Linked DNA regions of Homo sapiens: region 1 is linked to region 2. The links are contacts of gene promoters, found by promoter capture Hi-C in human tissues and cell types (Jung and others, 2019). All regions are on one chromosome and are shown on one strand. The core of a region is centred on a gene start or on the middle of the fragment in contact, and the rest is flanking DNA. Distances in the headings are between cores, read along the strand shown. Region 1 overlaps MICU1 (mitochondrial calcium uptake 1). Region 2 holds the start of PLA2G12B (phospholipase A2 group XIIB).

The links. Contacts are between HindIII fragments. The study calls those that stand out against the background at their distance.
Region 1: a contact is called between a fragment that was not itself captured here and the fragment with the promoter of PLA2G12B in region 2, in 2 of the 25 tissues and cell types used here (dorsolateral prefrontal cortex and lymphoblastoid cells).

What each region holds. Positions count from the first base shown.
Region 1 is chr10:72,509,013-72,515,230 of GRCh38, forward strand. All of the region lies in intron 5 of MICU1 (mitochondrial calcium uptake 1), which reads right to left. Among named protein-coding and RNA genes, the nearest start is that of MICU1, 110 kb to the right of the region's middle. The HindIII fragment of the contact is 4,645 bases long and covers 1-3,835 here.
Region 2 is chr10:72,950,911-72,957,736 of GRCh38, forward strand. It overlaps PLA2G12B (phospholipase A2 group XIIB), which reads right to left and starts at 3,896. Exons shown (of 4, transcript NM_032562.5): 1 at 3,565-3,896. The coding sequence starts at 3,775. The HindIII fragment of the contact is 10,065 bases long and covers 784-6,826 here.

The DNA of each region.
Region 1 (6,218 bases), core at 263-2,762, 440 kb before region 2:
GCTTTGGTAATTGTCTGCCTGGCAAGTGGTCTCTTCCTGGGTGTTTAAACAAACTTACTCTGTTTTCTGAATTCTTAGCCAAAGCATAAACTTAGTTGTGACATTGAATATATTTTCAAAAACTGAAAAGGATCCACCAAAAAGTTAGACTTGAAACTAATTTCCACAAGTTCTAGACCACCAAAAATATTTAAGGAATTATTTTGAGTATAAAAAATAGATTTTAAAAACCCAAACCAATAAAGCACAATCAAAGTAATAATGTCATGCAAGCATAAAGTAAGAGGCAGCATTGCAGGCATAACTTCAAGAGGAGTATGATGAAAACTAAACCAACAAGCACCATCACACCAGCATCCAGTTACACAACTATCCAATGGGTTACCTCTGTCTAGTGGAGATCCCATCATAAACCACAAAGGAAAGAAAACTGGTTAACCAACTGAAAATACAAGTACCACACGAATCATCGTGAAGTCAGTTTGTATGATCTTCTCAATAAACTCATTCAAAATAGCCTCTACTAGATATTTACTTGTTCATAAGAAACAGTAGCTATGGACAGGTTAAAGTCCACAGGTGAATAACAATTACACAGTAGTAGGTTTTGATGGCGCTTCTACTTAGAAGAACTTTGCTGACTTCTTTTGCGGCTCACAGAAGGCATAGTCCTGCTTGATAGCATTTAGAGATTACTTCTTTGAGTTGACAACAAAAATGAGTATAGTCCAGTATGTTATTAAGGTTAGATCTCATACTACACTTGATCTTCTACCAAGAGACTGAACAGAAATTTCAGACAAAAAAAGCTACTGGATGAGAACTAGAACAGCAAAGCCCTCCACCAGGAAGTTAATATTTAAATTTCTCAAAATAAAAGAAAAAAATTTGCATTTTTTACGTTACCCAAGATACTGCAAAGGTAAACTATGTGAACAGGAAAAAATACACAAAATGAGAATAGGTCCCCAAAGGCTGACCATTACCAGCCATAACAATAAATGTGTATAGAAGCTAATATTTAATAATAATGATGTAATAAGCTTATGGGGAAATTGCTATAATTAAAATAAATAACATAGTGGAAGCCACAGGTTGAGAAACAGACAAAAGTCTAAGGATAGAGTGAAATGAGGAAGTTAAGCCAAAGAAGCAAACCTAACATTATTTTTCTAACAATCATCCGGGCCATGCTGATGCTGAGAAGGTAACATAAGGGCAAATCTAATTTTGTTGGTAACAAAATTTGAGTTTGACATAACTTCAAACTCACAGAAAAGTTGAAAGATTAGTATAAAGTACTATTATATATTTTTTACCAATTCACCAACAGTTTACATATTACACAATTTGCCTTGTATTTTTTCAACATGCCACTTTGAAAGTAAATTGGAGACATCATGCCACTTTATGCTTAAGTACCTCAGCATAGATTTCCTGGGAACAAAGACATTCTCTAATGGTCACAATCCCAAATGCCATAATCCCAAACGTTGAAATCCCCAAAGATCAAAATTTCTAAAGCCTAAAATCCCCAAAATGTAATTCTGATACATAATTTATAGCACAGTGTATATTTAATAAAACCAGGAAATTTAGTATTGATACACATACTATTATCTAATTCAGTCCTTTTTTATTTTTTTTTTGAGATGGAGTCTCGCTCTGTCACCCAGGCTGGAATGCAGTGGCGTGATCTCAGCTCACTGCAACCTCTGCCTCCCGGGTTCAAGCCTCAGCCTCCCGAGTAGCTGAGATTACAGATGCACACCACCACGCCCATCTAATTTTTGTATTTTTAGTAGAGACGGGTTTTGCCATGTTGGCCAGGCTGGTCTTGAACTCCTGGCCTCAGGTAATCCACCCACCTTGGCCTCCCAAAGTTCTGGGATTACAGATGTAAGCCACTGCGACCAGCCAAATCCAGTCCATTTTCAAATTTTAGCAAATTGTCCCAATAATTTCCTTTATAGCTATTTTCACCCTGATCAAGGATGTAATCCACAATCATAAACTGCATTTAGTTGTCATGTCTCTTTAGTCTCCATTAATAGGGAACAGCCTTTCTTTGTCCTTATTTTTTCCTGTAGAGGTTTATTGGTTTTGATTGTGATAAATTCACCATTTTTACCATTTAACCACACAGTACGTAGGCCTTTTAGGTTTGGCTTCTTTCACTGAACATAATGTTTTTTAGGTTCACCATGTTGTAGCATGAATCAATATTTAATTCCTTTTTATTGCCAAATGATATTCCACTGTATGGGATGCTGATCATAATCCCCCCAAAATACACACTGAACACCATAATCCCGAATGTTGAAATCCCCAAAGATCAAAATCCCTAAAGTCTAAAATCCTAATTTTGGAAAACATAAAAATTCTTTAAAAATATTTGCTTACATTTTTAAAGAAGATTTGAGAAACATAAGAATGAGACAGAACACTTTGAGCAGAAGAACCACTGTTCATAAAGAAATGGCTCAAAGGGGAAATGTATAAACGCCTATCACTATAGTTAGTAATCGTATGTGCCCCAGTTATAAAGGCAGTCATCTGAAATACCCTGAGAACAAACCTAAGTCTTTTCATGAGATAAGTTAAAAACCACAATGGGTCATTATTGCATACACAGTTGCCCAAAGAGCTGAGATCTTGAGAAATTTTATCTTTCACAAATGCAGTACAAAAAAGGTCATTTCTTCATTTATTGAGGAAGTTTCAACGTTTTAACATAAACGCACAATGCTTACACACAATAAATGCTGTGATAATACACTTTTCTGAAGTCGAATTTCTGATATCCAAAGCAGCAGCAGAAAAGTCTGCCCCAGCTCTCAGAGAGAACCATTTGCTGTCTCCAGATCCCTAGCTGATTGGGTGGTGCCCATCAACATTGAGGGCAGACCGTCCCCATCTAAATCCACTCAGATTCACACACTAGTCTCCTCACCCTAACACCCAAAATAATGCTTTACCAGGTTTCTAGGTATTCCTTAATCTAGTCAAGTTGACATTTAAAATTACTGATACCTAAAATGAAGTCCACAAGTTCATCCCTTATCAATCTGGCATCCATACACAGTTGTTTTTTGTTTTTTTTTTTTTTTTTTTTTTTGAGACGGAGTCTCGTTTTGTCGCCAGGCTGGAGTACAGTGGCACAATCTCTGCTTACTGCAATCTCTGCCTCCCAGGTTCAAGCAATTCCCCTGCCTCAGCCTCCCAAGTAGCGGGATTACAGGTGCCCGCCACCACGTCTGGCTAATTTTTTGTATTTTAGTAGAGATGGGTTTCACCATATTGGCCAGATGGTCTCGATCTCCTAATCTCATGATCTGCCCACCTTGGCCTCTCAAAGTGCTGGGATTACAGGCGTGAGCCACCATGCCTGGCCCCCATACACAGCTCCTTAAGCCATACTTAACTCCCAAATAAAGATAACAAGGTAAGGAATTTTGATTTTTTGGGATTGTATCTTTCCAGATTATGATCCAAACCCCACTGTATGTATATGCCACAGTTTATCTATTCATATGCTCAAAGACATTTAGGTTATTTCCACCTTTTGGTTATTCATGTATGAGTATCTGTTTGAGTACCTGTTGTCAATTCTTTTGGTATGTACTAAGGAGAGGAACTGCTGGGTCATATGGCAGCTCTATGTTTTTGGTTTTTGTTTTGTTTTGTTTTGTTTTGTTTTGTTTTGAGACAGTGTCTCACTCTGACACCCAGGCTGGAGTGCAGTGATATGATCTTGGATCACCGCAGCCTTGACCTCTGGGGCTCAGCTCAGGTGATCCTCCCATCTCAGCCTCCCCAGTAGCTGGGACTACAGGTACATGTCACCATGCTCGGGTAATTTTTGTATTTTTTGTAGAGATGGGGTTTTGCCATGTTGCCCAGGTTGGTCTTGAACTCCTGGAGTTAAGCAATCTGCGTGCCTCAGCCTCCAGAGTGCTGGGGTTACAGGCATGAGCCACCACACTCAGCTGGTTGTTTTTTGTTTAAGACAGGAGGAGGTTGCTCTGTCGCACAGGATGAAATGCAGTGGCACAATCATGGATCTGGGCTGCATCCTTGATCTCCTGGGCTTTAAGCAATCCTTCCACCTCAGCCTCCCAAAGTACTGCGATTACAGCACCATTTACATTCCCATAAGCAATGTAAGAGGATTCCACATTCTCCACACCCTCACCAATACTTCTTCCTCTTCTTCTTTAAAAAATTATAACCATCCTCATGGATATGACATGGTATCTCACTGTGATTTTGATTTACATTCCCCTAATACCTAATGATGCTCAGCATCTTTTCATGTGCTTTTTGACCATCTGTATATCTTCTTTGGAGAAATGTCTATCCAAATCCTTTGCTCATTTTTGAATTTGTTATTTCTCATTTGGCTGTTGAGTTCTAATCGAAGTTCTTTATATATTCTGGATATTAGATCCTTATCATAGACATATCTGCAAATATTTTCTCCTATTCTGTGTGTTGCCCCTTCACTCTTGATAATGTCCTATGAAGCAGAAAAGTTTTAAATATTGAAGTCCCATTTATCTATTTTATTATTTGTGCTTTTGATGTTATATTTAATATTTCATTACCAATCCAAGGTCATGAAGATTTACCCCTACTTTTCTACTAAGGGTTTTACAGCATTTGCTCTTTTTTTTTAGGTTATTGATCCATTTTGAGTTAAATTTTGTATATAATGTGAAGTAGGGGGTTCACCTTCATTCTTTTGTACGTGAATATCTAGTGGACCTTATACCATTTGTTGAAATGGTATGACCTTTTACCACTGTCTTACATGCTTGTTGAAATTCAATTAACCATAGATGTGTGGGTTTATTTCTGAACTCTCAATTTTCTTCCATTGTCTGTGTTTATGCCAGTACCACATCATTTACATTTTTGTAATTTAAAAAAATTGCAGTAAAATGCATATAACAAAATTTACCACTATAAACATTTTAAAGTATAAGTCTCTTCAGCTCTGTGCATTTTTTTTTTCATTCTTTTTCCTCTCTGCCTCAGACTAGATAATATCAATTGACCTATATCTTCAAGTTCACTAATTCTTTCTTCTGCCTGCTCAAGTTTGCTGGTTGAATCCCTCTAGTCAATTTTTCAACTCAGCTCTTGTACTTTTCAGTTCCAGAACTTCTATTTGGTATCTTTTAAACAATTTCTATGTATCTATTGAAATTTTCTGTTAGTTCATACATCATCCTTTTAGCTACTTAACTATACTTTAGGCAGTTGATCTAAAGTCTTTGAGTAGTACATATAATGTCCGTGCCTCCTCAAGGATACTCCCTATTTCTTTTTTTTTTCTTTCTGTGATTGGGCTGTAATTTATTGTTTCTATGTATGCATAATTTCTTGTTGAAACTGGACATTTTGTATATTATAATGTGGTAACTCTCGAAATCGCATTCTTCCCCTTCCTCAGGGTTTGTTGTTGCTACTTACTGTGGGTTGTAGTTGTTTGTTTAATGACTTTATTAAACTCTTCTTGTAAAGACCTGTGACCTTTGTCATAGGTCGTCACTCAAGTCTCTGTTCACCTTAGTGAGCAACTAGTGATTTGACAGGTTTCCTTAAATGCCTGGAGCGAAAGGGGTAAAAATACTCTCCGGATCTTTTCAGACTGGCTCTGTATTGGGCATTTCTTCAATGCTTACTTAGCAAGACCATTTACAACTCTCTCTTAGCCTTAAGATTCCGGCTTGCATGGGGCTTAAATGTCAGCCAGACATGAAAGCTCAGGATCTTCTAAGGTTTCTTCTGAACATTCATTCAACCCTAAGCCTTCTACACTCCCCTGTATATGGTGAAGCATTTCAAATCACTTGTTCTCCCATGTATCTCCTTACAAAGCCTCTTCCTTCCCAGGCTATTTGGTTTGTCTGCTTGTCCCAGCTGCTACAGTATTATTTACCTTTAAATCTTTCTGACAAATGCTGCCCCAGTCCCCTAAAAGCTCTGAAGCAGGTGAAACAAAGGCAAGCCTCAAAGCTGATTCCTTAGGGAGCCACCAGACAGGTTGATGCCCACATCCAGAGTCATCCAAGAACATGATCCACATTGCTCGTTCTGACACAAGCAAACTCTGTCAGGAACATGGGCCGCCATCCTTACAGCTGCCATTGCACTGGGGACTTGGGGTGGTCACCAGGTAAGTTAAAATACAATGTTCTGTGAACAAATTT
Region 2 (6,826 bases), core at 2,646-5,145:
GATAACTCTTCAGTCGTTGTTCCCTCGAGGGACTTCTTCCGGAAGCTGAGAGGCTGTTGTCCAGCCACTGGGATTTCTGGGATTTTTCATTTTTACGTTGAAAGAGAGCTAGAAGAATCTGAATGCAATTAACCTGTTCACTAGACTGTCTTTCTCATAACGTTTATAAAATTTGTTTGGTACCTACCATGCTTTATATATACCACTGATTCTTTATGTATATTATCTTTAATTCTCACAACACCTTTGCAAGGTGGGTATTAGTAACATTATTTTTACATATTTGAGGAAACTAAGGTTGAGAGAGTCAGATAACTCACCCAAGGTCACCAGCAATGGGATATTTTCTCCTAAATTCAAACCCATGATTTTTCCATTACTATGCTTATTTCTCAAAGTCTGGTTCAAAGACTACCCATTAAAAGTGCACTTCCAAGGTCTCACCACAGACCTACTGCATCAGAATCTCTGGAGGTGGAAAAGGTTATCTATATTTTGGAAGCGATTCTCAAGGAAATCTTGTTTGCATTGGCACAGACTCCTTTTTTTTTTTTTTTTTTTTTTTGAGGTGGAGTCTCGCTCTGTTGCCCAGGCTGCAGTGCAATGGTGAGATCTCAGCTCACTGCAAGCTCTGCCTCCCAGGTTCACACCATTCTCCTGCCTCAGCCTCCCGAGTAGCTGGAACTACTGGCACCCGCCACTACACCCGGCTAATTTTTTTTGTATTTTTAATAGAGACAGGGTTTCACCGTGTTAGCCAGGATGGTCTCGATCTCCTGACATCGTGATCTGCCTGCCTTGGCCTCCCAAAGTGCTGGGATTACAGGCATGAGCCACCGCACCCAGCTGGTAGAGACTCCTTAATAACAGTTGTGCTAGGTATGCCATTGACACACGCTGGATCTTGTCATATTTATAGCCCAGTTGTTTGACAAGTACAGATTTTGTGTGTTGGCATGAGAACAAATTACTTTAGATATGAGAAGCACGGAAAACAATGTTGACATGCTATCATGGGCTACCAGGATACATACACAGTTTTATCTGCCTGCATAATTTAACCTGTGGGCTGAAGTTCTCTAAGAATGACGTCATAGAATGGCACCCCTTTACCTTGGCTGTGCTTTGCAATCACCTGGGAAAAATGTTAAAATACTGATGTCTGGGGCCAACCCACAGAAATTTTGATTTAATTGATTTGGTGCCAGGTGTTGTTAAAGCCCCTCAGGTGATCTGAAGTGTACCCAAGTTAGAAACCCACTGTTTTAAATAGTAGTTAGTACCTATCAAAGGTAAAATCTGGCTGGTGCCGTGGCTCACGCCTATAATCCCAGCAATCTGGGAGGCCAAGTTGGGAGGATTGCTTGAGCCCTGGAGTTGGAGACCAGCCTGGGCAAGATGGTGAGACTCCCTGCTCTACAAAAAGTTACAAAATTATCTGGGCATGGTGGCGCACACCTGTAGCCCAAGCTAACTGGGAGGCTGAGGCAGGAGGATCTCCTAAGCCCAGAATCTCCTACTAATCAGAAACACCTGGGGTGGGGCCCAGAGATCTGGTTGAATCTGCCCTCCAGGGGCTTCAATTCACAGGTGAGTTTGAGAACCACTACTTAAAAGACGAGCACGGTGCATGAGAGATGTGTCACAAAGCAAACTACAAAAGAGCAGACTCGTTGTTAGGTGTTGTCTGTTCAAAAGATTGCTCGATTCACAATCAGTTTGAGAAGGTATTTTGTACTCTTTTGGGCACAGCCGCCAGGTTTTTGGCTCTACTGGGTTCCAAGGTAAGGAGGCATAACCGCCTATTTTTCTAAGTGTTTTTCAGGCCCCTCTTTGAGCAGGTTGTTTTACACAAAGTGAGAAGAGTTATTTGCCTTTCTCTTCTATTTACTCTTCCCATCCCCCACCAGTTGCTGCTGGCTTCCACCCTGCCCAGCCAGAGGCTCCGCAACTAAAATTTGCTTAAGTCTTTTAATGCTGTTTTGCTAGAGAAGGAAGAATAGGATTTGGTTCTTGATTTCCTAATAAAAATTCCTGCTGTTGCCTATTTGCTGAACTACAGATACTAGTCCTGTGTTGCCTTTAGGAAGGAAAACACCTGTGTTGATTCCAATGTCTGAAGTGAGTCAACCCCTTCCCTGTCCCATCCGTGCAAACAGTGTGAGCATAATCCAGTGGCAAGGCCTCTGCGTTGGTCCAACTGCCTTGGACAAATACATGGTTTTAGGGCCAGGTGGGTCCTAACAGACCAGGCATTTTTCTCTGTGAAACTTTCACAAAGAAGCTGCAGCATAGATGGTTAAAACATAGATGGTTAAAACATAGATTTTAACCATAGATTGTTAAAACATCTATGCTGCAAAACTTTGGGTCCTGATGCAATGATTAACCATTACCTCCTAGTCACTCTTAGTGTATAAGGAAGCGATTTTCCCCACTCAAAAAGGAATAGAGAGACTTAAGGGTGAGTCCGGGAAGTATGTAGTTTTTTTGTGCATCTCTTCAAAGCTGACTTTTTCTCTGTTGAGTATTTGGAGAAAATATTTCTCAAATGTGTTTTCCTGTTAGGCTAAATTGACTCACCATTTTCATTTCTAATCCCTTGATGAGATAGTTGATAAATTAAACCATAAAACTAATGCTACCTGAGACCTGAGACTGTGCATGCTTTGGAAAACGTTTTCATGCGCATTGGCAATTACACGATGCCACCCAGCTTCAAGGCCTGGGGCTCCACATTTTGCTCCCCTTACATTAACTTCCAGGGCCCCTGGGACCAGGGGCTCTGTGCCGGCAGCCAGGTGTGCACCTTATATCTGTGTACCCCCAGCCATATTCAGGCAAGGTAGGGGAAGTGCTCCTGCCAGCTCACAAATCTGCATCTGGCGCCAAGTCCAGGGGACAGCCCCGGGATCCCTGGTGAGCCACGAACCCTTCCTCTCCACAGCATGCCTGTCGTTGCCGAGGCTGCAGGCAGGGACAGCTCCCTTGAGAAAGTCCAGCAAATTGATGCCAGTCAGGGACTGAGAGCTGGGAGGACGGTGTGAACTGCAGCAGGGGGAAGGGAGAATTTGTTTCCAAGCTGAGCACAGAGCAGCTGAGGAGGTGGTTTTGCCCCATGGCAGATTTTTCTCTGAATGTTCGGCTTCAGTTTTCATCCCTGGGAACTCCTCACAGAGGCCTCTCATACCCACCCTCCTTCTTCCCACCCCAGGTACCCTTTTTTCCTAAGAACTGCCTCACAACAAACTCATTAAAATGGCCCAGGGAAGGTTTCCCAGATACAATACAGGAAGCTCAGTGAAATGTGAGTTTGAGATAAACAACGAAGAATTTGTCAGGATAAGTATGTCCCAGATATTTCACTGGACATACTTATACTAATGACTTATTTGTTGTTTATTTGGATTTCACATTTCACTGGGTGTCCTACATTTTTATCTGCTAAATCTGGCAGCTCTAAGTGGATAACAGGAAAAAGTGCAAGACAGATCGTGACCTCTCTGGGGCTGTCCATGGGTCCACCAGCAACAGTTTTTACAGAAAGAGAAACCGCACACTCACCATATCGGCACCTGTACTGACAGACTCCATTCTTCCCTCCCAGCAGCTCCAGAAAAGAATCGAAGTAGCTATTGACGGATTCAAAGCTTCCCCGGAGGTGCCGAAGGCCCCAGTCTGAATAGGACTCCTCCGTGTCAGGGCTCGTGTCGCTCTGAGCCAGGCCACCCCCAAGGCTGAGCCACAAAACCAAGAAGCCACTGGCCAGCTTCATCCTGCAGCCAGGTAGGTACTGGCTTCTCTCCTCAAACCCCAGCCAGTGTCCCAGAATTCCAGGGACAAACCCCCTACCCAGATGTCAGGCAGGACTGGGAAAGGGATTATCTGGAACATTCAATCTGTCTGTTCCCCAGAGGTGGACTTTAAACATAGCTATGGAGGTTGGGATGAGATCAGGGCAATTAGAAAGAGGGCAAAGGTTAGGGAGTGGGAGGGCCAGGGAGAGAGAACATTTCAAAGTGGATTCTACCACCCTGGAGGGAGGGAGATGTTAGCCAGCTTCTGAGACGCAGGAACGGTGAAGGATTCGGAGTTCTACCCCGACCAGCTTGTTAAGCTGTTGATCAGTTACAAGTGTGGCTCTTCAGGGCCAGCCTCTTGATAGAAGAGCTTGACCGAAGGTCCTAGCCACACCCCTCAGCCAGCTACCTACATAGTCTCCAAGGAGAGTCAGGAGGATGTGTACAGGGCCCAGGAAAGCCCCAGCGGTAGGAATTAATAGTCACTTTACCAAGGGTCACGATAGTGTCAGAGTAGGTACCAAGTGTGTGTTAAGCAGAAGTTCAGATTTGAGACCCCAGCTTCTGCTGTGGAACCCACCTGGCTCTGACGCATAAATCCTCTAATTTGGCAGAGCTCCCAGATGTAGCCATCTGAGTGCAGGGACATTTTGGCTTCTATTTACAGCAGTATCTCTGTTTACACTCAGCATAAGTGGATCATAAGACAAGATCTACAGATGGTCCAAGGACAATTCTGGGGGCACTCGGCTCTCCTGGTGGTGTTTTTCCTTTGAGTTTCTTAGAAGTCAGAGGGTTTATCAAATAGTCTATTTGGGAGTGTAGGCTTTTAAGACTGTTGACTGAAGTCTAGTGTTTTGGCATCGTTTTCAGTTTAGACTGCTTTTAGTCGTGTGAAGAAATGCCATCTATAAAATCACTAGTCTAGGACCGGGCATGGTGGTGCATGCCTGTAATCCCAGCATTTTGGGAGGCCGAGGCGTTTGGATCACCTGAGGTCAGGAGTTTGAGGCCAGCCTGACCAACATAGCGAAACCCCGTCTCCACTAAAAATACAAAAATTAGCCAGGCAAGGTAGCAGCCGCCTGTAATCCCAGCTACTAGGAAGGCTAAGGCAGGAGAATCACTTGAACCCAGGAGGCGGAGGTTGCAGTGAGCCGAGAGCACGCCATTGCACTCCAGCATGGGCGACAAGAGCGAAACTCTGTCTCAAAAAAATAGTAATAATAAAATAATCACCAGTCTATAAAAATGATACCTTTATGGACCACATGAATCATTTAGCTCCTTTCTCAAATGTTTGTCTGGAAAGCCCCATGGAAAATAATGAATTAAATGAATTAATTTCTTCATTTTCAGTAAATGTGTTTGGCTGAAGACTCAGACTCCAGGAAGGGCAGTGGTTAAAAATTATTCATAGTCACAACAATGCCACCCAATATTTTAAAGCATCTATACTTTTTCAAACCACTTTCATGCATATGCACATACACAGAGGCACACACATACACATGCACATATGCACAAATGTTCATGCCAGTTTCATGAAGCAGATTAAATAGTCCCATTTGGGGGTGAGAAAACTGATGCAGAGGGTAAGTGACTTGATCAAAGCTGGACAGGCTATCAATGGGAAAGCTGGCACCAGGGCCAGCTACATAATTTGTAGGGCTTCACCAAAACAAAACTGCAAATGCAGAGCTCCTTTTCCAAAAGCAGGGGAACTTGCCATTAAAATACTAACTATAGGCTGGGCGCGGTGGCTCACACCTGTAATCCCAGGACTTTGGGGGGCCGAGGCAGGTGGATTGCCTGAGGTCAGGGGTTCAAGACCAGTCTGGCCAATATGGTGAAACCCCGTCTCTACTAAAAATACAAAAAGATTAGCCCGGCGTGGTGGCGTGCACCTATAATCCCAGCTACTCAGGAGGCTGAGGCAGGAGAATTGCTTGAACCAGGGAAGTGGAGGTTGCAGTGAGCCAAGATCGTGCCACTGCACTCCAGCCTGGGTGACAGAGTGAGACTCTGCCTCAAAAAAAAAAAGCTAACTATAAAGCTTTTTCCTTTAAAAAATGTTTTATTATTTGTAAAATATAATAAGGTTAATAGAGATACATGAGTATCAATATATACATAAATTTTTTAAAAATTGGTGTCATAATTTTATATAATACTATATATTACTTTATAAGTATGCAATATTTTGATCATAGGATTTTTCTGACTTTTCTGAAAATTCATTGATTAGGTCATCAAAGTTTATACTTCTAACAACCTAATTTTCAATCAGTGTAACTGAAAGTGATGTCAGTTGCTCTTGGCAATTGTAAGATGGCAAGAAATATTTGATACTTTTTTGTTTTGAGAAGGATCTTTTTGCTGATGCAACTGTTACTAGAGCTGTTAATAGTATTGTCCCCCCATTTCTTGAAACTTTATACATGTTTAAATTGTGGTAAAATATACATAACATATTTACCATTTTAACCATTTTTAAGTGTGCAATGCAGTGGCATTAAGAACATTCATACATTGTTGTGCAACCATCACCACTATCCATCTCCAGAACTTTTTCATCATCCCAAACCGAGACTCTGTTCCCATTAAGTGATAAGTCCCCATTCCCCTTTTCCCCAGCCCCTGGCAGCCACTATTCTACTTTCTGTTCTTAGGAATTTGCCTATTCTAGGTACCCCATATAAATGGAATAATATAATATGTGTCCTTTTGTGTCCAGCTGATTTCACTTAGTATAATTTTAAGTTCATCCATGTGGTATGTATCAATACTTCACTGAGAATACTGCTGCTATGAATACTGGTGTACACATACCCATTCAAGTCCCTGCTTTCGATTCTTTTGGGTATTATATACCTAGAAGTGGGTTTGCTGGATGGTAATTCTATGTTTAACTTTTGAAGAACCATTATACTGCTTTCCATAGTGGCTGTACCATTTTACATTCCTGCCAGCAATGGACAAGATTTCTAATTTCTCCACATCCTTGTCAACACTTGTTGTTTTCC